Regions from separate parts of the Homo sapiens genome. Here all the other regions are linked to region 1. The links are contacts of gene promoters, found by promoter capture Hi-C in blood cells and fetal thymus (Javierre and others, 2016). All regions are on one chromosome and are shown on one strand. The core of a region is centred on a gene start or on the middle of the fragment in contact, and the rest is flanking DNA. Distances in the headings are between cores, read along the strand shown. Region 1 holds the start of NPAS2-AS1 (NPAS2 antisense RNA 1). Region 2 holds the start of LOC107985814 (a long non-coding RNA gene). Region 3 has its middle 11 kb from the start of LINC01868. Region 4 has its middle 18 kb from the start of PDCL3. Region 5 has its middle 31 kb from the start of LINC01868. Region 6 has its middle 33 kb from the start of LINC01849. Region 7 overlaps LINC01868 (long intergenic non-protein coding RNA 1868).

What was found. The method cuts DNA at HindIII sites, captures the fragments that hold promoters and counts their contacts. A CHiCAGO score of 5 or more calls a contact.
Region 2: a fragment that was not itself captured here is called in contact with the fragment with the promoter of NPAS2-AS1 in region 1 in 8 of 17 cell types (naive CD4 T cells, non-activated CD4 T cells, total CD4 T cells and 5 more); the score reaches 11.0 in naive CD4 T cells.
Region 3: a contact is called between a fragment that was not itself captured here and the fragment with the promoter of NPAS2-AS1 in region 1, in 7 of 17 cell types (M1 macrophages, endothelial precursors, naive CD4 T cells and 4 more). The highest score is 10.2, in M1 macrophages.
Region 4: a contact is called between a fragment that was not itself captured here and the fragment with the promoter of NPAS2-AS1 in region 1, in 5 of 17 cell types (total CD4 T cells, naive CD4 T cells, non-activated CD4 T cells and 2 more). The highest score is 10.6, in total CD4 T cells.
Region 5: a fragment that was not itself captured here is called in contact with the fragment with the promoter of NPAS2-AS1 in region 1 in 3 of 17 cell types (M1 macrophages, M2 macrophages and M0 macrophages); the score reaches 7.9 in M1 macrophages.
Region 6: a fragment that was not itself captured here is called in contact with the fragment with the promoter of NPAS2-AS1 in region 1 in 3 of 17 cell types (naive CD4 T cells, total CD4 T cells and naive CD8 T cells); the score reaches 7.5 in naive CD4 T cells.
Region 7: a fragment that was not itself captured here is called in contact with the fragment with the promoter of NPAS2-AS1 in region 1 in 7 of 17 cell types (M1 macrophages, non-activated CD4 T cells, naive CD4 T cells and 4 more); the score reaches 7.1 in M1 macrophages.

The regions. Positions count from the first base shown.
Region 1 is chr2:100,975,895-100,978,594 of GRCh38, forward strand. NPAS2-AS1 (NPAS2 antisense RNA 1) reads right to left here and starts at 1,267. Exons shown (of 3, transcript NR_110213.1): 1 at 822-1,267. NPAS2 (neuronal PAS domain protein 2) reads left to right here. Exons shown (of 21, transcript NM_002518.4): 15 at 1,816-1,905. The HindIII fragment of the contact is 3,647 bases long and covers 770-2,700 here.
Region 2 is chr2:100,653,160-100,655,859 of GRCh38, forward strand. It overlaps LOC107985814 (a long non-coding RNA gene), which reads right to left and starts at 166. Exons shown (of 4, transcript XR_001739199.1): 1 at 1-166. The HindIII fragment of the contact is 8,143 bases long and covers 1-2,700 here.
Region 3 is chr2:100,689,965-100,692,664 of GRCh38, forward strand. No RefSeq gene overlaps it. Among named protein-coding and RNA genes, the nearest start is that of LINC01868, 11 kb to the left of the region's middle. The HindIII fragment of the contact is 2,208 bases long and covers 310-2,517 here.
Region 4 is chr2:100,543,538-100,546,237 of GRCh38, forward strand. No RefSeq gene overlaps it. Among named protein-coding and RNA genes, the nearest start is that of PDCL3, 18 kb to the right of the region's middle. The HindIII fragment of the contact is 1,179 bases long and covers 834-2,012 here.
Region 5 is chr2:100,709,359-100,712,058 of GRCh38, forward strand. No RefSeq gene overlaps it. Among named protein-coding and RNA genes, the nearest start is that of LINC01868, 31 kb to the left of the region's middle. The HindIII fragment of the contact is 6,246 bases long and covers 1-2,700 here.
Region 6 is chr2:100,635,043-100,637,742 of GRCh38, forward strand. No RefSeq gene overlaps it. Among named protein-coding and RNA genes, the nearest start is that of LINC01849, 33 kb to the left of the region's middle. The HindIII fragment of the contact is 6,239 bases long and covers 1-2,700 here.
Region 7 is chr2:100,671,070-100,673,770 of GRCh38, forward strand. All of the region lies in intron 2 of LINC01868 (long intergenic non-protein coding RNA 1868), which reads right to left. Among named protein-coding and RNA genes, the nearest start is that of LINC01868, 7.5 kb to the right of the region's middle. The HindIII fragment of the contact is 7,321 bases long and covers 1-2,701 here.

The sequences.
Region 1 (2,700 bases), core at 17-2,516:
ATCCCCTTTCATGCTGGTGAAAATATTTGAGCAGCTCAGTGTCAACAAAAATGTACCTCTGCACATATCAGGTAGCGTCCCCAACATGTGCCAGATCCTTCCAGAACATCGGGATGTATGGCCCTGGCTATATGTAAAGTCACTGGCATGCACCACTCTGGTCATCTATTGCCAGGTAGCAAACTACACCTAACTTAGTGGCCTAAAGCAACCACATGTATGAAGTTCATGGAGTCTGGGTCAGGAATTCAGAAAGGGCATCATGGGGATGGCACTTCTCTGCTCCTTGGTGTCGGGGATCTCGTGGGCCTAGGCTATGGAATGCACCCACCAGATGGTGTCTGCACATGAATGTCCAGCAGCCGGGCTGGGTGGCTGAGGGCTGGGCTCAGCTGAGGCCATCCGTCATTGACTTGCATGGGCCTCTCAAGCCTTAGGCTTCTCCTGGCATGGTGGTGGACTCCAGGTTCCAAGAGGAGACACCTGGAGACGCAGGCAGGAACCATGCAGACCTCTGTGACCTAGCCACGGAAGTCATATAGTATCACCACTGCCATACCTCTTGGTCAAAGCAGCCCTGAGCTCACCCATGAAGAGGGATATAGACCTCCACTTCTAGACGGGAGAAGTACCCAGGAATTTTAGGGGCCACCTCCAGATAGTTGCCAAACCCCTCCCACCCACACTTCACTGTCACTTTGGAGATGGAGTGAACGTGCCACCTTCCTGCTTGCTGTCTCCATAAAGGCTGTGCACACCCTGCTTGAGAAGCTTGGGCGATGCGTTTTATTTTCAAGTAGAATGTGGCAAAGACCACTTACTTTCTCTCCAGCCACCTCCAGATGCGCTTGCAAGCTGTGCCTGCCATTCTTCCAGACTCTCCTGTCCAGTGTGACTCACTTTGCCAACAACGGAGGCCCAGAGTGCTTCTGTCTCCTCCCAGCTGCGCAGGGAAACAGAACCCAGACCAGCTTCTGGATCAGCCCTGTGCCTGGGATTTCTCACTGAAACAAGGTCTCCTGGTGTCATTTCCTCCCAATGCTGTCCTGGGTGACACTTTCCATTTGAGCTGCTTTTTTATATAGGCCCTAGCAACTAGGGGCCGTGTCGGAATAACTTCAGACGAGTCCTTTCACTGTTCTTTAAAAAAAAAAAAAACCACTAGAAAACCACTAGCCCGTGAAGCAGAGTGTTTCATTTCTTGTTACTATACATTGTCTCCCCCACCCACCCGAGTGATCAGGGAGCGCAGATGTGACTCAGCTCACTTCCCAGGAGTCTCTTAAAAGGTTCTGGGCAGAGGCTGGTGAAACTGCCCCAGTCCTCACTGCCTGGATGAGTTCATGGACAAACATGCATGGCGTGTCTGTCCATCTGCATTAGCGCTGAGCAGAAAAGATACGGACGCACAGCAGCTCATGGTAGCAGTCCACGCACGTCGTCCTGCTTGATGACACCGCTAAGAATTAATCCATTTGGGAGGAGAGCAACCAAATCCACCCAGGGCGGAGTCCAGGACAGCAGGCAAGGGAAGGGAAGTAGAGCTGAGCTACCAGGCTTGGGCAGGTAGCAGCAGCCTGGCAGAGCACACTGTGGTGGGGTGGAAGCCTGCACCAGTTGTGCAGGGGCTCTGCCCTTGTGCCCTGCGTAGGAAGCAGTGCAGCCAGGGAACAGACACCTATACTTTCTAGAACTCTTGACTTGGAGCTGTTCACCCCAGTGCGGAACGCAGAGAACCCACCGGACCAAGAGACCACATCCCTGTCCCCTGGAATGGCAGAAGCAGTGGTAACAAAGCCCCTTTCTCTCCCACAGGCCCCTCTGCCTTCCCCATCGTCCTGCGACCTCACACAGCAGCTCCTGCCTCAGACCGTTCTGCAGAGCACGCCCGCTCCCATGGCACAGGTGAGTCTGGGACCCAGGAAAGGGCAGCCCCTCTCAAGCCAGAAGTCCGCAGTGTGCTGCGCTGATGGTCTTGTACACTTAGGTCCCAACCAAGGCCCTGACGTGGGGGAATGTCCCTCCCAATGTGTGTGTGGCCTGTGTCGAGCCATGAGGTTCCCCCCACACCCACCCTCTCGTCTCCAAGTTCTTTTTTCCAGTGTCTGGGGTTTTCTTTTTTTAAATTTCAGTAGTTTTGAGGGAACAGGTGGTGTTTGATTGTATGGATAAGTTCTTTAGGGGTGATTTCTGAGATTTGTGTACCTGTCACCCGAGCAGTGTACACTGTACCCAATATGTAGTCCTTTATGCCTCACATCCCCCCACCCTTGCCCCACCAGTCCCAAAGTCCATCATTTCATTCTTATGCCTTTGTGACCTCATAGTTTAGCTCCCACTTAGAAGTGAAAACATACGATATTTGGTTTTCCATTTCTGAGTTGCTTCATTTAGAATAATGACCTCCAGCTCCATCCAAGTTGCTGCAGAAGTCCAGAGTCTGTTTTTTTAATTCTTTTAACAGTCTCTGTTCACCTCTTTGCCACTTTTCCACATTCCTCTTGTTCTTTACGACTCCAAATTGGCCATGGTATTTTAGAAAAGGTCTGAATTGGGCTGCATGTCATAGAAAGACTGAAAGGATCTAAAAGCCGTGAGTCCAGCACTATAAATATCACATTTGTTTAAAAAAAAAGAAAGAAAGAAAGAAAGAAAGAAAAGAAAAGGATTACGGCTTTGCTGAGTAATTCCATCCTTGTT
Region 2 (2,700 bases), core at 124-2,623, 320 kb before region 1:
GACCTCTCCTGGGTTAACTGGCATCCGGGGTCAGAGTGAGGTGGATGAGGAGAAATGCATCAGCCCTCGGCCCCTGGATACTCCGCCAGTGGCTTCACACCTGGGAGTCACAGACCCTGCTGAGTGAAGGTCAGCCACACTGAACAGTCCTTCTGAGAATGGGCTTTTTAACCAGCAGAGAGAGTGGTCACCAATAGAACACCAGGCCTTGACGATTGGAGGACTTAGCACAAAAGAAGGTGGGAGGGAGGACAGAGGACAGGGAAGCCTGCTTGGTGTCCTGTGGTGGTCCAGCAGAAGGACAGAAGTGTCCAGAGCGCTCCCAAACGGAGGCAAGCTGCATCTGCTCCAGGAAGGCTTTCTTGATAGAAAAAGAGGGGGCAGCATCCTCTCATTTATCCCCCGCCTCTCCCAGAGGGCATGCCTGGGCCAAGGCTCACCTGGCTTCATGTGTGATCTGTGTCTGTATTCACCCTACATCAGCTCAGTTCAACACATCTTTCTGAGCACCTGCTATGTGCTAAGCACAGTAGAAAGCTCACATTACAAAGAAAGATGCAGTCCCTTTCTTCACGGAAACCACTTTCTCTTGTGGGAGGGAGATCCACAAAGAGAACATTTCAGTCTGTGAGCTGGGTGCTATGAGCATGCTACGGGCAGGGCCCCACGCAAGCCCAGACTGCATGTTCAGGGACCTGCACCAGGGCCCTCCTACCTGCCTGTGGTGAGATCTCCCCTCGCACAGACACCAGGAAGCAGTCATACCTGTCATTTCAAATCATGTATCTTAGTTTGGGTTGCTATAACAGAATACCACAGTGGCTTATAAACAACAGAAATTTATTTCTCACAGTTCTGGAGGCTGGATGTCCAAGATCAGGGTGGCAGATGGTTGGGTTCTGGTGGGGGCCCTCTTCTGGGTTGCAGACTGACAGCTTCTCTCTCTCTCTGTCTGGTTTTTTTTTTTTTTTTTTTTTTTTTGAGAGGGAGTTTTGCTCTTGTTGCCCTGGCTGCAGTGCAATGGTGCGATCTCGGCTCACCGCAACCTTCGCCTCCCAGGTTTGAGCAATTCTCCTGCCTCAGCCTCCTGAGTAGCTGGGATTACAGAGATGCGCCACGACGCCCGGCTAATTTTGTATTTTTAGTAGAGACAGAGTTTCACCATGTTGGTCAGGCTGATCTCGAACTCCCGACCTCAGGTGATCCACCCACCTTGGCCTCCCAAAGTGCTGGGATTACAGGGGTGAGCCACCGTGCCTGGCCCCCCCTTTTTTTTTTATATTTGAGAGGGAGTCTTGCTCTGTCGCCCAGGCTGGAGTGCAGTGGCACCAGCTCAGCTCACTGCAACCTCTGCCTCCTGGGTTCAAGCGATTCTCCTGCCTCAGCCTCCAGAGTAGCTGGGATTACAGGCACATGCCACCATGCCTGGCTAATTTTTGTATTTTTAGTAGAGACGAGGTTTCACCATGTTGGCCAGGCTGGTCTTGAACTCCCGACCTCAGGTGATCTGCCCATCTCGGCCTCTCAAAGTGCTGGGATTACAGGTGTGAGCCACCGCATCCAGCCACAGCTTCTTTGTGCCTTTACATGATGCAAAGAGAGCAAGAGAGTGCTCTGCAGTCTCTTTGCTAAGGGCACTAATCCTATTCATGAGGGCTCCATCCTCATGACCTAATTGCCTCCCAAAGCCCCACCTCCGAACACCATCACCTTGGGGGTGAGGATTTCCACACAGGAATTTGCGGGGGAGGGCACACACATTCAGACCGTAACACCATGAGATTGAGGAAACAAATACTTTTTAGTGCTCACATCTTCAGGAAATAACTTGGCACAGCCTACTCAGGGACACCTTTTGCCCACAGAAATCCAGCAAAGGAAATTGTTCAAAAGCTCATTACACACAAGCACCTACTGCATCCCTGGGCACCCTTTCCTCATCCATCTCTTCTTCTCTCTACCTGCAAACTGTCTGTCTGGGCTAGTTTGGGCTAATTACTGAGCAATAAAATGTCTGATTTTTATATAGTGGCTCTGTTCAGAGCTGCCAAAAACATTAAAAGTAGGGCCAGGGTAGGAGAGAAAAACATATTTTTTCATAATTTTACCTAGAAGATTCATTTGAGAGGGAGAAATAGGCTCACTGCCCTAACGAGAGAGTTGGATAAAAACAAATTCCTCATTAATTTTAAATATGTCAACTGGAGAAGGAGATTAAAGTGAGGACGACTGATGAATGGTGCTTCTGGGAACAGACGAAAGCACACCGAGGAAAGGGGATGGGGTCCCCAGTAGGCCCTCAACAGAAACAGAGCTACCCTCACTAGCTCTGCAGGGACAGCAGCTCTGGAGGGTGCCCCTTGGAATAGGGGCACCATGCACTGGACACCCCCTCCCACGGCAGGGGCTGGCACTGCCCACTCAGCTGGCAAGACTATAGAGTGATGAGGACTTGGCTCTGATGAAGCTGGAGCTGGAGATGAAATACTGCGGGCTCTTGGCATCCTCCTAAGTGGCCTGGCAAGGTGTAGATAACAATAAGGGAGCATCCCCACTCAGTGTTTACTTTCAGCTGTCTCTAGTAGGCAAGTTGCAAATGTTCGCCTTTATTAACGCACGTGTTTTCTCATTACTCTGTGAAGCAGATGGGTCTATGGTGTCTTCAGGAAAGAAATGCTGGCTGGTTTCTTAGAGCAGCTT
Region 3 (2,700 bases), core at 164-2,663, 290 kb before region 1:
AAGGCGCTTGCTCTTGTGGCTCCCGGCCTCCAGTGTTACTCTCTCTGTTTCCCTGTGGATGGCCACTGTGGTGCTTCACACATCCCTACCCAGACCCAGTAGGGTCTCTGAGCTCTGAGCTCAAGGATGTGTTTTGAGGGTGCAAATGTCTTAGCTTCTGTTCTGGGCTTAGAGCTAGTTACAGGCTACAAGGTGTTGTCATTACAGACCCCAAGGAGGCTCAGTCTGTGGGATCCTTCCACCTGGATAGGCCTTTTCGGGCTGCACTTGCTCAGATGAAAGCCACTGACCCCCCTCCTTATGCCTGTAAGCTTGATAGTGTTAATGGCAAAGAGGGGAGAGGGTAAAGGTTGGCATAACGACTACAGCAAAATGATAATGACAACAAACTAACAATAGCATTTATCAAGCGCTCACTATGTGCCACGCACTCTTCTAAGCACTTTAGTTGTATTGACTCATTTCATCTTCATACCAACTCATTGTGATAGATACTGTTCTATTTTTTACAGATGATGAAACTGAGGCACAGAGAGAGGGAGTCCTCTCTTAATTCTTGAATCCCCTTCAAAACCTGGGTCTTTGGGGCCTCCTTCTCTTTCATCAGACTGCAGTCTAGAGCCATCAGGCAATCTCTGTGCCAGGTCTAGAGGGGAGGTGGACCAGGTTCAATGGAGTGTCTTGTAAATAACTGGGTGTCTGTCCCTGCCAGAACTGAGGGTTGCTTTCATTTTTAGCTGCAACTACCATTAAAGAGCTATTTGCCTCTGGGATCCCTTTTGGTTCCATACCCTCCAATAATTAAAGTAGGTCATCCCTGTGACCAGGCATGATGGGGGCCGGGGGCAAGGATGTAGGGATGTTACATTGGTTTCTCTCTCTCTCTTTCTCTGTCTCTCTCTCTGTCTCTCTCTCTCTCTCTCTCTCTCTCTCTCTCACACACACACACACACAAATATCCCTGGAATGCCCCCACAGAACTTCCTGGGTGGTTGCCTACACGCCCCTCTCTTAGACAATAAGCTCTCTAAAGAGTCTTTTTAAAGACAAGAGAGCAGTCAACCTGCCTCCAAGAAACACACAAACAAGGGAAGTCTTGAGCTACATTTTCCACTCAGGGTAGTGCCAACTGGGTCTGTTACGTCACTTGGAGCAGCTATTTATCTCAAATAAATGAAAAATCCTTTGCTTTGTGGACAATGACAGAAAACTTGCAAATTGGGAGCTTTGCCAGGAGTGGAATATGCACCTCATTGATGGGGGCTGTCAGGAGACTGAGGACAGAAACCACTGCTGCACCAATCACTGCTGCTGGGGACCACCATCCTCCATGGCCTCTGCTAAATGTAGCCCCCGGTGCCTGGTTCTGCCTGGAGGGGCTGCTGCTGCTACTCAAGGGCCAGGCCCCCTCCCAATACCAAGTGTAACTCTTCCTTCAACTCTCCCCTCTGACTGCCTCAGGGAAGACTGCCCTGACCCCCAGACTTGGAGGAAGGTCCAGTCCCATAAAATCCACAGCATCTACCACTTTCTCTGTTGTAATGCTCACCATGCTCATAGCTACCTACTTACTGCCAGTGTTCCCCACCCAGCTTCCTAGCCACTTTCCATGAGAGCAGTGACCATGTCTGTCCTGTCCACTGAGTCTTTGTTACCTAACAAGGGCTCTAATACACAGCAGGTCCCCAGTACGTGATTGTGGATTGACTTCAACTAAACAGAAGAGCTAACCAGATGCTGAGCTCTGTATTAAGTACTTTGTATATATCCACTTCACAGGTGGGTAGTGTGAGGGTCAGAAAAGTCTAGTAATTTGTTCAAAGTCACACAGCTGGGAAGCAGAAGTGCAAGGAGGATTTGGACTCAGTTATCTGACACCAGAGCCCAAGTGCTGGACCATGACACTAGAAGCCTCCTAGACCCCTTGGGCATCTACCCTCCTGGGGCGTGGGCTCACTAGAATCCTCAACTCTCCCCCATGCCAACCTTTCCCCTAATAAACTCACAATCCAGCAACCTCTCCAGACCCACAGCCCCTTGGGGAGACAATGTCCTTTTCATAAAGAACACCACACTGGTTGCCATGGGACCTGAGCTTGGCCTAGCTCCACCACCAGCTGCCATTGTGACCTCAGGCCAACGACTTGACTTTTCAGGGTCCTCATCTTCCATGCAAGACCAAGACCTTCTCGGGGCATTCTTCAGAATGCCAGCCAGAATAGCTCAGGCTCAGCAAGGCTAGATTTAATTTCTGCTACTCCATCTATAACTTTGTGACTCTGGGGGCAGCACAAGTGACATTTTGAGCCTCTGTTCCATTAATAAAATAGGGAGAGTCACCATATCTGCCCTCCTCGCCTGTCTGTGGCAAGGACATGGAAGCCCAGGGAGTTGGAAGTGGCTTGCTCAAGGCCCTACAGCAAACCCGTGATCAAATCGGAGTTGAACCCTGTCAAACCAGCTTGAGTTGCTGCTCTTAACCACCTCGCCACGCTAAGCATTAAAAAGCAAGCAAGAAGCTTGGCTGTAAAACCTGAGCCATACATGTGTTTCTCTTGCCTTATCTGCAAAGCAAGTCTAAAGAGGCTGGACAAGAAAGGTGCAGCCCCAGGATGTGACTCACTGTGACCTTCACCTTGACTTGTCCCAGCCTTGACACTAGTGAAGGCCCTTTAAATAAAAACAGGGTGATGTCCAACT
Region 4 (2,700 bases), core at 173-2,672, 430 kb before region 1:
CTTAGTCTTCTTGGAGAAAAGAATTCAGCCAAGAGACCAATTGGTAAAGTAAACAAGAAGGTTTATTAAGGAAATAAAAGAACACATCATGAGAGGGGCAGGCTGACCCAGAGCAGCCCTGAGAGCCTTGTGTTGTGGTTTTTATTATGTTGGACTGTTTATTTAAGTGCCTACTTCTGTCTTAAGTCTCTGTCTTTGTCTTTGTCTAGTTTCCTGTTCCTGTCTTAAGTCCCTGCCCAGGTTTGTGGGATTCCTCCTTCTGGTCAGTTGACGTGCATGCATGAGGCATGGTGATCAATACAAATCCTACCTAATGGTAGCCTTGCTCGAGACCACCACACCAGGAAGGTCTACAGCAGTCAAATCTGTACCTATTGTGCCTGTGTATCTCTTAGGAATTCCCCCTTTTTCCTTTTTCCCTTCCTATCAGCATACAGCTAGCTACATTCTGACAGTTTACCAGCAGAATGAGCAGCGACTGGGCATCTGATGGGGTGTTTGGGACATTCCTTTCTGCATAGGTATCTTCCCCTGTGCTCATATTTAGCATGCAGGTTTCAGGTGGTCTCTGGAGCTTCCTCCCCCAGGGGCTCCCTTTCCTGCTCATGTCTAACTGTGTGCCAACTCTACAAGTGTGATAAACAATAAGAATGCCTGACTCCCTCACAAAGCCTTGGGTGTCAGCACCAGTGAGCTTGGTGGGCAGGGAGGGTGAGGCATGGTGATGGCTGAAGAGGCTCAAAGGCTTTCTGGGGTTTTGTGCCACATCGGCTCCCTAAAACCCCACAGTTCCTATTTTTCTACCCTAACCACTTAACATTTCATTTCCCCCAAGCTTCCATCTCTGTCCTGAAGGTTTATAGCCTGTGAGATGCAGACCTCGATCTGTGTGGGTGTGGATAAGGGCACTGCAGAGACTTTGAAAGGAAACCGAGAAGAACTGGGCAGCAGCTGCCAAACATTGTCTTCACACATATGTCAAGTATGTGAAGTACATATGACATAGACCCATTAAAAATCAGGTTCCTTTAGGTGTGGTAATCAGGTCATGGTAACTTCTGGTGATTTGACATCTCAGGCATACCTTTTCCATGCCAGTGGAATGGTACAATTCAATTTTTTTTTTTTAGACAGACTCTCACTCTGTCACCCAGGCTGGAGTGCAGTGGCACGATCTTGTCTCACTGCAACCTCCGCCTCCTGGGTTCAGGCGATTCTCCTGACTCAGCCTCCTGAGTAGCTGAGATTACAGATGACCACCACAGCCCAGTTAATTTTTGTATTTTTAGTAGAGATGGGGTTTCACCATGTTAGCCAGGCTGGTCTCGAACTCCTGACCTCAAGTGATCTGCCTGCCTTTGGCCTCCCCAAGTGCTGGGATTATGGGCTTGAGCCACCATGCCCGGCCAGAATTCTATTTTAGAGAGACTTTATCATATCAAAATAGTTGGGAGCCACCGAGATAGTTTATAATTGGGGATTCTACTCCAAACTGTGATTTCTTCTCTTTCCTCACTAGAAGTCTGCATCCTTCCCAGTACAGTATCAACAAACACTGTAGATCCACGTTGGCTCCGGTCCCTGTTTTCTCAGCTGTTGGAGAGAAAAGAGCAAGGGTTTTTTTAAAACGTATCCCTTCATTTTCTAGCTGTGTAACTTTGCATTTACTTAAATTCTGATAATTTCTTTTTCCTCAGAATATGAAAAATCCCTACCTACCTCTTAGAGATGCAGTGAGAATCAGGTAAGAATACATGGGCGGTGTTAGGTCATCAGTGCAGGAATCGATATTGACAAATGCTTACATTCAAGTCCAACAAACCTGCCTCATAAACTCATTTGAATTCAAGGAGAGAAATTGCAGCTTACTCATCAAATATTCCATGAGAAAGATAAACACCTGTTTTCTCTCAATCAACTTTTAGAAGTTGGAAGACTTCAAACCTGAAGATTATCTCTCTCATGGCCCACATGGCCATCTCCAATGCAGGTATGTCAACCTGAAAGGAAAAAGCTTAGGCAAAATTAACATAAGCAGGCAGTTTATTTGGGCCAGGCTTGAGGACTGCAACCCCAGATCATAGATTAAAGTTGTCCTGAATATGCGCTCAAATTTGTAGCAGTTACAAGGGGATTTTTAAAGGCAAAACTTGGGGGCAGGGAGTGGACTGATACAAAGCTGTTTGTCAGGAATTCTCATTTGTTTACAGAAATAACATTGCCTATTGATTGGCTATACATTGTTAAGCCATAGAATGTGGATTATCGTGTCTAATGTGGCAATAGCAAGCAGTTGATCAATACATAGCTCAAAGCGGGGAGTACAGCGTGATTGCTTTCTCAATTCAATGTCTCTCTGGGCCTGATTATTAAAAGGAATTGCCTTCCTTACATAAAAGTTATTTTCTTTATTCTTTTCCTTTTTTTTTTTTTTTTTTTTTGAGACAGGGTTTCACTCTGACATCCAGGCTGGAGTGCAGTGGTGTGATTACAGCTCACTGTAGCCTCGACCTCCTAGGCTCAAGCAATCCTCCCACCTCAGCCTCCCATGTACCCTGGCTAATTTTTTTTATTTTTTGTAGACACGGGGTCTCACTTTGTTTTCTGAGCCAGTCTTGAACTCCTGGGTTCAAGCAATCCTCCTGCCTCAGCCTCCCAAAGTGCTGGGATTATGGGCGTGAGCCCCCACACCCCTCCTAG
Region 5 (2,700 bases), core at 178-2,677, 270 kb before region 1:
ACATGACCTCTGGCCCACAGGCTTCTCTCGTGCTTCCCTCACCTGAGAAACAAGACTACCAAGTTTGCAAGGAGGTGCCTCAGTTCCCTGCAAATATGTCCACTTCAGAGAAGCCTTTGCCATCAGGTGCAGATCTTACATGCCATTGTCTATAGGACAGAAAATATCCAGTCTGCTGAAACATTTCCTCCCTTGGGCAGAGGTACTCATGATTTCTAGCACCTGGTGCTTAAAAAACTTCAATAGAGCAGGGGTTCCCAATTCCCAGACCGTGGACCAGTATAGGTCTATGGCCTGCTAGGAACTGAGCCGCACAGCAGGAGGTGATGAGTGGGTGAGCTCACATTACCTCCTGAGCTCTGTCTCGTGTCAGATCAGCAGTGGCATTAGATTCTTATAGGGGCATAAACTGTATTGTGAACTGTGCATTCAAGGAATCTAGGTTGTGCGCTCCTTATTAGAATCTAATCAGTGCCTGATGATGTGAGATGGAACAGTTTCATTTTTAAAATGAAAAAACTCTTGTTTTAGAAATTTTGCTTAGGTTAAACTTTATATATATATATATATCCTATTACTACTAATACTATGGAGAACACTGATAGTCCTTGATGGAAACTGTTTAGAGAGTTATGCAAAATAAATGCATTTGACACCTTTGCCTCCTCATCCATGGAACAATTGTCTTCCATGAAACCAGTCCCTGGTGCCAGAAGGGTTTGGGACATTGAAATGGAGGACTGGTTTTGTTTTGTTTTTAGTAACATTGATCCACTTTTCTGAGGTCCTGCAAGGAAAAAAAAGTGGATTTTAAAGCCTCAAAGAGGAAAATCAAGGATGATTATTTTGAATAACAGCAAGAAATAAAAATTCAAGACAAACCATATAGCAGTGTGACATAAAATAGCATAAAAGTGGCAAGGTGTAGCAAAAGTATTTTTTAAAACATTTCCTTAATGGAAAATTCGAAACACTTATGTAAGTAGACAGAATAGTATAATGAATCTCTTCTGTCCATGGTCTAGCTTCAATACTCATCAATTTACAGCCAACCTTCGTTCATCTTGACTTCCACTCATGCATTCCCTCCTCCTAATAATTTCGATGTACATCCCAGACATCATATTATTACAACTGTAAAAATTTCAGTGAATCTCAAAGTCATTGTGCTGAGTGAAAGAAGCTGGACAAAAACAATATATATTTTATTATTTGTTTAGAATTCTAGAACATGCAAACCAATCTATATTGACAAGAAGCTGATCAGTGACTGGGGACAGGACTGGGAGAGGCAAGAGGAAAGGATTACAAAAGCACCTGAGAAAATTTTGGAGAGGGTGATGAATACGTCCGTTATCTTGACTGTGGTGATGGTTTCACAGGTGGCTACACAAGTCGCAACTCACAAAACCGTGCATTTTAAGTACGAGCAGTTAGTTGTACACCAATTATACCACCATGGATTTATTTTAAGATAACACACTATGGTTGAAGATTGGGTTAATTAATTTATTTATTTTTTATTTTTTGAGACAGACTTTTGCCCTTTTCGCCCAGGTTGCTTCATTTCTTGGCTCACTGCAACCTCCACCTGCCAGGTTCAAACGATTCTCCTATGGCGTGAACTCAGGAGGCAGAGGTTGCAGTGAGCCAAGATCGCGCCTCTGCACTGCACCGCACTGCACTCCAGCCTGGGCGACAGTGCAAGATTCCGTCTCAAAAAAAAAAACAAAAAACAAAAAACAATCCTCCTGCCTCAGCCTCCCAAGTAGCTGGAACTACAGGTGCAGCAACCACACCTGGCTAATGTGTTTGTTTGTTTGTTTTGGTAGAGACGGGGGTTTCACCATGTTAGCCAGGCTGGTCTCAAATGCCTGACCTCGGGTGATCCGCCCACCTCGGCCTCCCGAAGTGCTGGGATCACAGGAGTGAGCCACCATGCCCGGCCTGAAGATTGGGTTTAAAAACAACCAGGGCTTTAAAAACTTGAGTTAGATGTTTAAAATAATTTGTTTTTTCTTTCTGTCCTCATTAACATAAATATTTAAGGATATGCCTTTTCCTTTGAGCACTGCTGCAGCTATACCCACAGGTTCTGTTATACAGTTTTGCAATTGCTGTTTTCTAAAATGTCTTTGTTAACGTAAAGTTAAGAGTTTTTTCTTTTAAAAACATTTCAGATGGAAGAATCTTTTTCTAGTTCTTTGTTATCAATGTCTAGTTTAATCCTATTATGATTAGGGGATTTGCTTGTACTATTTCTACTTTTGATAATTTGTTGAAATTTTATTATGTACATTTATGTAGTCAGAGTTCATGAATGTTTCACTGACCTTCGTAAAGAAGGTAAACTTTCCATTTTCAGGATATAGATTTTTGACATATATCAACCAGATCAATGTTCTTACTTTCTACTTATTTCTGTTATTTGATCTGACATGAATTAATAGCTTTGAAAAGTTTTCTACTACAAGTGTGTTTCTATTTCTCCTCATATCCTCTGTAATTTCTGCCTTATGAATATTGATGCTATGTGCTTTTGCACACAGACGCTTATTAGCTATTTCATCTTTTCTGTGCGTTGTGTCTTTTAGCATTAGAATGCTCCCTTGTTTGTCTCATTTAATGTTCTTTGGCCCTGAATTTCTTCCTCTTTGAAGGCAAACTGGCGACACTTGCTAGCTTTTGGTTTGCGCTTGC
Region 6 (2,700 bases), core at 127-2,626, 340 kb before region 1:
TGCTATCTTGATTACTATAGTTACATAGAGGTCTTAATAATGGGCAGAATGAGTCCTCTCACTTTATTTTTATTTGTCAGAATCGTTTTAACTATTCTAGAGCCTGTACTTTACCATACATACTTTAGACTAAGTTTGTCAATATCTACAGAAAACTTTCCTGGGATTTAGGTAGCAATTGCTTTAAACCTATAGATCAATTTAGGGAAAATTGACATATTTATTATGTTGAGTTTTCCAATCTGAGAACACAGTAAGTATGCCTCTCCATTTATTTAGGCTTTTTAAAATTTCTTTCATCAACATTTTATAATTTCCAATATAAACATCTTGTACATGTTTTGTTAAAAGGACACCTAACTATTCATCTTCTTAGGAGTGACTGTAAATAGTATTGTATTTTTTATTGCAGTTCTTACATTTTTATAGTTAGTATATAGAAATGGAATTCATTTTTGTTAATCTTGTATCCTGTGACATTGCTGAACTCACTTATTAGTTCTAAACATTTTTTCATAGATTCCTGGGGATATTCTGTAGAGACAATCATATCTCCTATGAATATAGTTTTAGTGCTCTGTTTTCTATGTGTATGTATTTTATGTCTTGTCTTTACTGAGACTTCATTGGTTATAACTTCCAGTACTATGTTGAATAAGGGTGGTAAGAATGGGCATTGTCTTGTTCTTGATCTTAGGAGGAAAGCATTCAGTCTTTCCCCATTAAGTAGGATTTTGTGGATTTTTTTTTGTAGGTACCCTTTATCAGTTGAGAAAATTCCCTTCCATTCCTAACTTGCTGAAATTTTTATTATGAATAAAATTAGAGTTTTGTCAATTGCTATTTTTGTGTCAATTGATATGATATGATATTTCTACTTTAGCTTATTGATGTGATGCCTAACTTTCAATTATTTTTTGAATGTCAAAATAGCCTTGCATATCTGATAGAAATCACACTTGTTTATGGTATATAATTCTTTTTATACATTATTGGATGAAGTTTGTGGATATCTTGTTGAGAATTCAACATCTAACTTCCTGTGACTTGTCGGTTTGTAATCTTCTTTGTACTGTCTTTTCCTGGTGTTTGTATTAGGGTAATACTGACCACGTAAAATGAGTTTTTAAATGTTCTCTCCTGTTTTACTTACTGGAGGAGATCGTGTAAAATTGGTGTCAATTCTTCTTTAAATGTTTGGTAGAATTCTCCAGTGAAACCATGTGAGCCTAGAGATTTCTATCTTAAGAGCTTTTCATTTACTAATTTAATTTTCTTCATGGTTATAGGGTTATTCTGACTGTCAATTTCATCTTGGTTGACTTGGTAGTTTGTTGTTTCAAGGAATTAGTCCACTTCTTTTAAGTTGTCAAATATGTGAGTTTAATGTTAGTCATAGTGGTCCCTTGTTTGAAATGGTTGCAGAATCTATAGTGATATATCTCATTTCATTCCCGACATTGGTGATTTGTGTCTCCTCTCATTATATTTTTGTCAGTCTTGTTAGAGGTTTATCAATTTTATTGATTGATTCTAAAGAACCAGTTTCTGTTGTCAATTTTCTCTATTATTTTCTTTTCCTATTCTCAATTTCATTGATTTCCACTCATATTTATTTTCTTTCTTTTGCTTGTATTGGTTTTATTTTGCTCTTTTCTTTCTAGTTTCTTGAAGTAGGAACTTAGATTATTAATTTCAGATATTCTTCTTGTGTAATATAACATTATTGCCAAAAATTTCCTCACAGTACTGCTTTAACTGCATTCCACAAATTTTCATAGGTTGTATTTTCATTTCATTCAGTTCTGCGTATCTTTAAAATTTTCCTTGTAGGCTTTCTTTCAACCCACAGATTATTTATAAGTATGTTGTTCAATTACTCCTTGCTTGTTATTTTCCTGTTGTTTTTCTATTATTGATTTCTTGTTTGATTCCATTATGACTGGGTATCACACTACATGATTTCAATTCTTTAAAATTATTTGAGGGGCTGGGCACAGTGGCTCACGTCTGGAACTCCAATGATAGGAATCTTGGATCTTCTCTTATTGTCTCAAAGGTCTCTGAGTCTCTGGTCTTTTTTTCAGTCAATTTTCTCATTGTTTTTCAGATTGAGTGAATTCCATTTTTTTTGTCTTCAAGTTCACGTATATCCTCTCTCATCTTCAGTCTACTATTGAGTTCATACAGTAAGTTTAAAAATCTCTGTTATTGTATTTTTCCAGGTCTTCATTTTCATCCGGTACTTTTTTATAACTTCTATCTTTTCTCAGATTTTTAATTTTCATTTTAAGAGAATTTATAACTTGAAGCATTTTATGATGCTACTTTAAAATCCTTGTCAGATAATCTCAACATCTGATTCATCTTGGTGTTGGTGTCAGCTGCCTGTCTTTGCTCCTTTGAGTCGAGATTTTTTATTTTGGTTCTTGGCATAAATGGTGAGTTTTTAATTATATCTTGGATATCTTGTCTGTTATGTCAGGAGAGTCTGGGTCCTATATAAATATTTCATATTAGCAGTCAGGTACCCTATTTAGGTTTAGCACATGCATCTCGCCTTACCTTATGGACTCTGGTTCTAATGTTAGTTTGATTTCCAGAGCCTTTGGTCTGCTAGGTTTCTCTGGTGCTTCTGGATATCCCATTGGTCCCTGATGATGCTGCCTGAGTGGGTAGAAGGGCTTTCCCTTGTCATGG
Region 7 (2,701 bases), core at 185-2,684, 300 kb before region 1:
GTTTTGCATCTCATTCCGTGATATATACAAGTTTACTTAAACTATTTTTTTTTTTTTTTTGAGACAGAGTCTCACTCTTTGGCCCTGCTGGAGTGCAGTGGCACCATCTCGGCTCACTGCAACCTCCGCCTCCCAGGTTCAAGTGATTCTCCAGCCTCAGCCTCACGAGTAGCTGGGATTACAGGTGTGCCCCACCATGTCTGGCTAATTTTTGTATTTTTAGTAGAGACAGCGTTTTTGGCCAAGCTAGTCTCGAACTCCTGACCTCAGGTGATCTGCCTGCCTTGGCCTCCCAAAGTGGTGGGATTACAGGAGTGGGCCACTGGGCCTGGCCTCACTTAAACATTTTAAAAGTTTTCTATTGATTGCTCTCAGGTAGAATCAACGCTCTTGTGCCATGTCTTGCCTATAGCTTTGTCTGTTCCCACCCAGCACACTGACTCCCGCAGAGAACCACAATCCAGTTAGCAAGACCTGCTGCTTAGGGGTTATCATTCATTTGTTCATTTCTTCTGCACGTATTGGGCCTGCCATGTGGAGGATGGCACAGATGTTAAGCTCACGAGTTCAGAGTAAGGGCTAACTTGCATTCAAGTCTCTGCTCACTTACTAGCTGTGTGATTTTGGGCAAGTGGCTTGCCCTCTCTGAGTTTTAGTTGTATTACCTTTTAGTTTTTTTCTTTTTTTTTTTAAGAGAGAGGGTTCCACTCCTGTCACCTAGGCTGGAGTGCATTGGTGCTATCATGGCTCACTGCAGCCTCGGACTCCTGGGCTCAAGCCATCCTCCCACTTCAGCCTCCAGAATTGCTGGGACTACAGGTGCGTCACCACCACACCCGACTTATAGTTGCATTACCTATGGCTCGAGAGCTATAGGGGCATCTGTCACATGAGACCTGTGAGAATTAAATGAAATAATGCCTGTAGAGCTTCGGTACCTTTCAGGACAATGTTCCCTATAGGGCTTAATTGTGTTCGCCATGATGGCATAAGATGGCATCGTCTATAGAACTGTCCTTATGGAATTATTAACTGAAGAGTTAATCAAAAATATTAAGTAGGGAATTATAAACAATGATAAAGATATTAAAATTATTTCATGTAAAAAGCAAAAATGCACACTGATTTGCCTATCTTTTGATGTAGGGTCAAGGCCCTGGCTTATGCCTTGTCTTTCTGCGGGAACTTTATGTCTTCTTCCTTATACAAACTACAAGTGTATAAACAGGCTATGCTCTGCAGTTTTGATTCTAAAAATAGAGCAAAGGTTTAAAGGAATATACGATGCAAGAGTCCTATGAATATTCAATTTTTCTCCCAAACATGTAAACTTGTCCTGCCCACACCTATGTCAATGCCACTGATTTCTAGAGACTCATCTTTCTTGGGTCTTTTCAACAAAAAAGCTGTCATTTTCACATTCATGTTTCATTAATTTGTAAGTGCTGAGTTAAATTGTGTAAGTGTGATAGCACATACCTCTGGCAGAGTGGGTTTGGGAGGAATCCCTGTGACTCTGGGTGAAGAGCACCTCAACTGGTGGGGCCAGAAGGGAGTGGTCTAGAGAATCCCCCAACACATGAAACCCCAGGGCAAGAACACAAATGGAGGCCCACATGCCATGCTGCTGAACATTTGAAAATTACAAATCAAGCTAACTTGGCCAGGTGCGGTGGCTCATGCCTGTGGTCCCAGTGCTTTGGGAGGCTGAGGCGGGTGGATCACTTGAGGTCAGGAGTTCGAGACCTGCCTGGTCAACATGGTGAAACCCCGTCTCTACTAAAAATACAAAAATTAACCTGGCGTATGCCTGTAATCCCAGCTACTCGGGAGGCTGAGGCAGGAGACTCACTTGAACTCAAGAGGCAGAGGTTGCAGTGAGCCAAGATCCTGCCACTGCACTTCAGCCTGGGTGACAGAGTGAGGCTCTGTCTCAAAAATAAATAAATAAATAAATAAATAAATAAATAAATAAAATAAAAATAAATCAAGTTAACTCTAACAAAATATAGTCTGCCTTCCTCTCCCGACAAACCCAGAAGGCCAGATTTTAACATTGAATTCTTGGACTCCATAGGGCTCCGTGCTAGAACGAGGTAGTCAGAGATGGCCAGCTCTGAGGCTCCAGCCCAGGTGTACCTCATTCCTCTTCTCACCCCCATTTCTCACACACCAAGGGGACTGGCAAGTACTGTGGAAGCTCCATCTACGTCCCCTACAGACAGTTGCCCCTTGGCCATCCTCAAGAAGAAAACCCGTCCTGTGATGGAAGGGGCTTGGGGTCCTGTGGGCAGGGAATGCTGGGGTCCCAGGTGCACTAAGAATGGTCTAGGCCCGGATTGGCAAGTATTTCTACAAATGACCACATGATAAATATTTCAGGCTTTGCAGGCCATACGGTCTCTGTCGTAACTACACAAGTCTGCCGTTTTGTGGTGAAAACAGCATAGACGCTATGCAAACAAATGAACATGGCAATGTTCCAGGAAAACTTTACTTATGGACACCAAAATTTAAATTCCATGTAATTTTCACATATCATTCTTCCTTTGATGTTTTTACAACCATTTAAAAATATAAAAACCATTCTTAGCTTATGAGCTGAATGGAAACTAGTGGCCCAGGAGTCATTTGCAAACCCTGGTCTAGAAGGTGAGGCAAAAACTCTAGGTGGACACATCCCAGTGGGCCCTGGACCTCT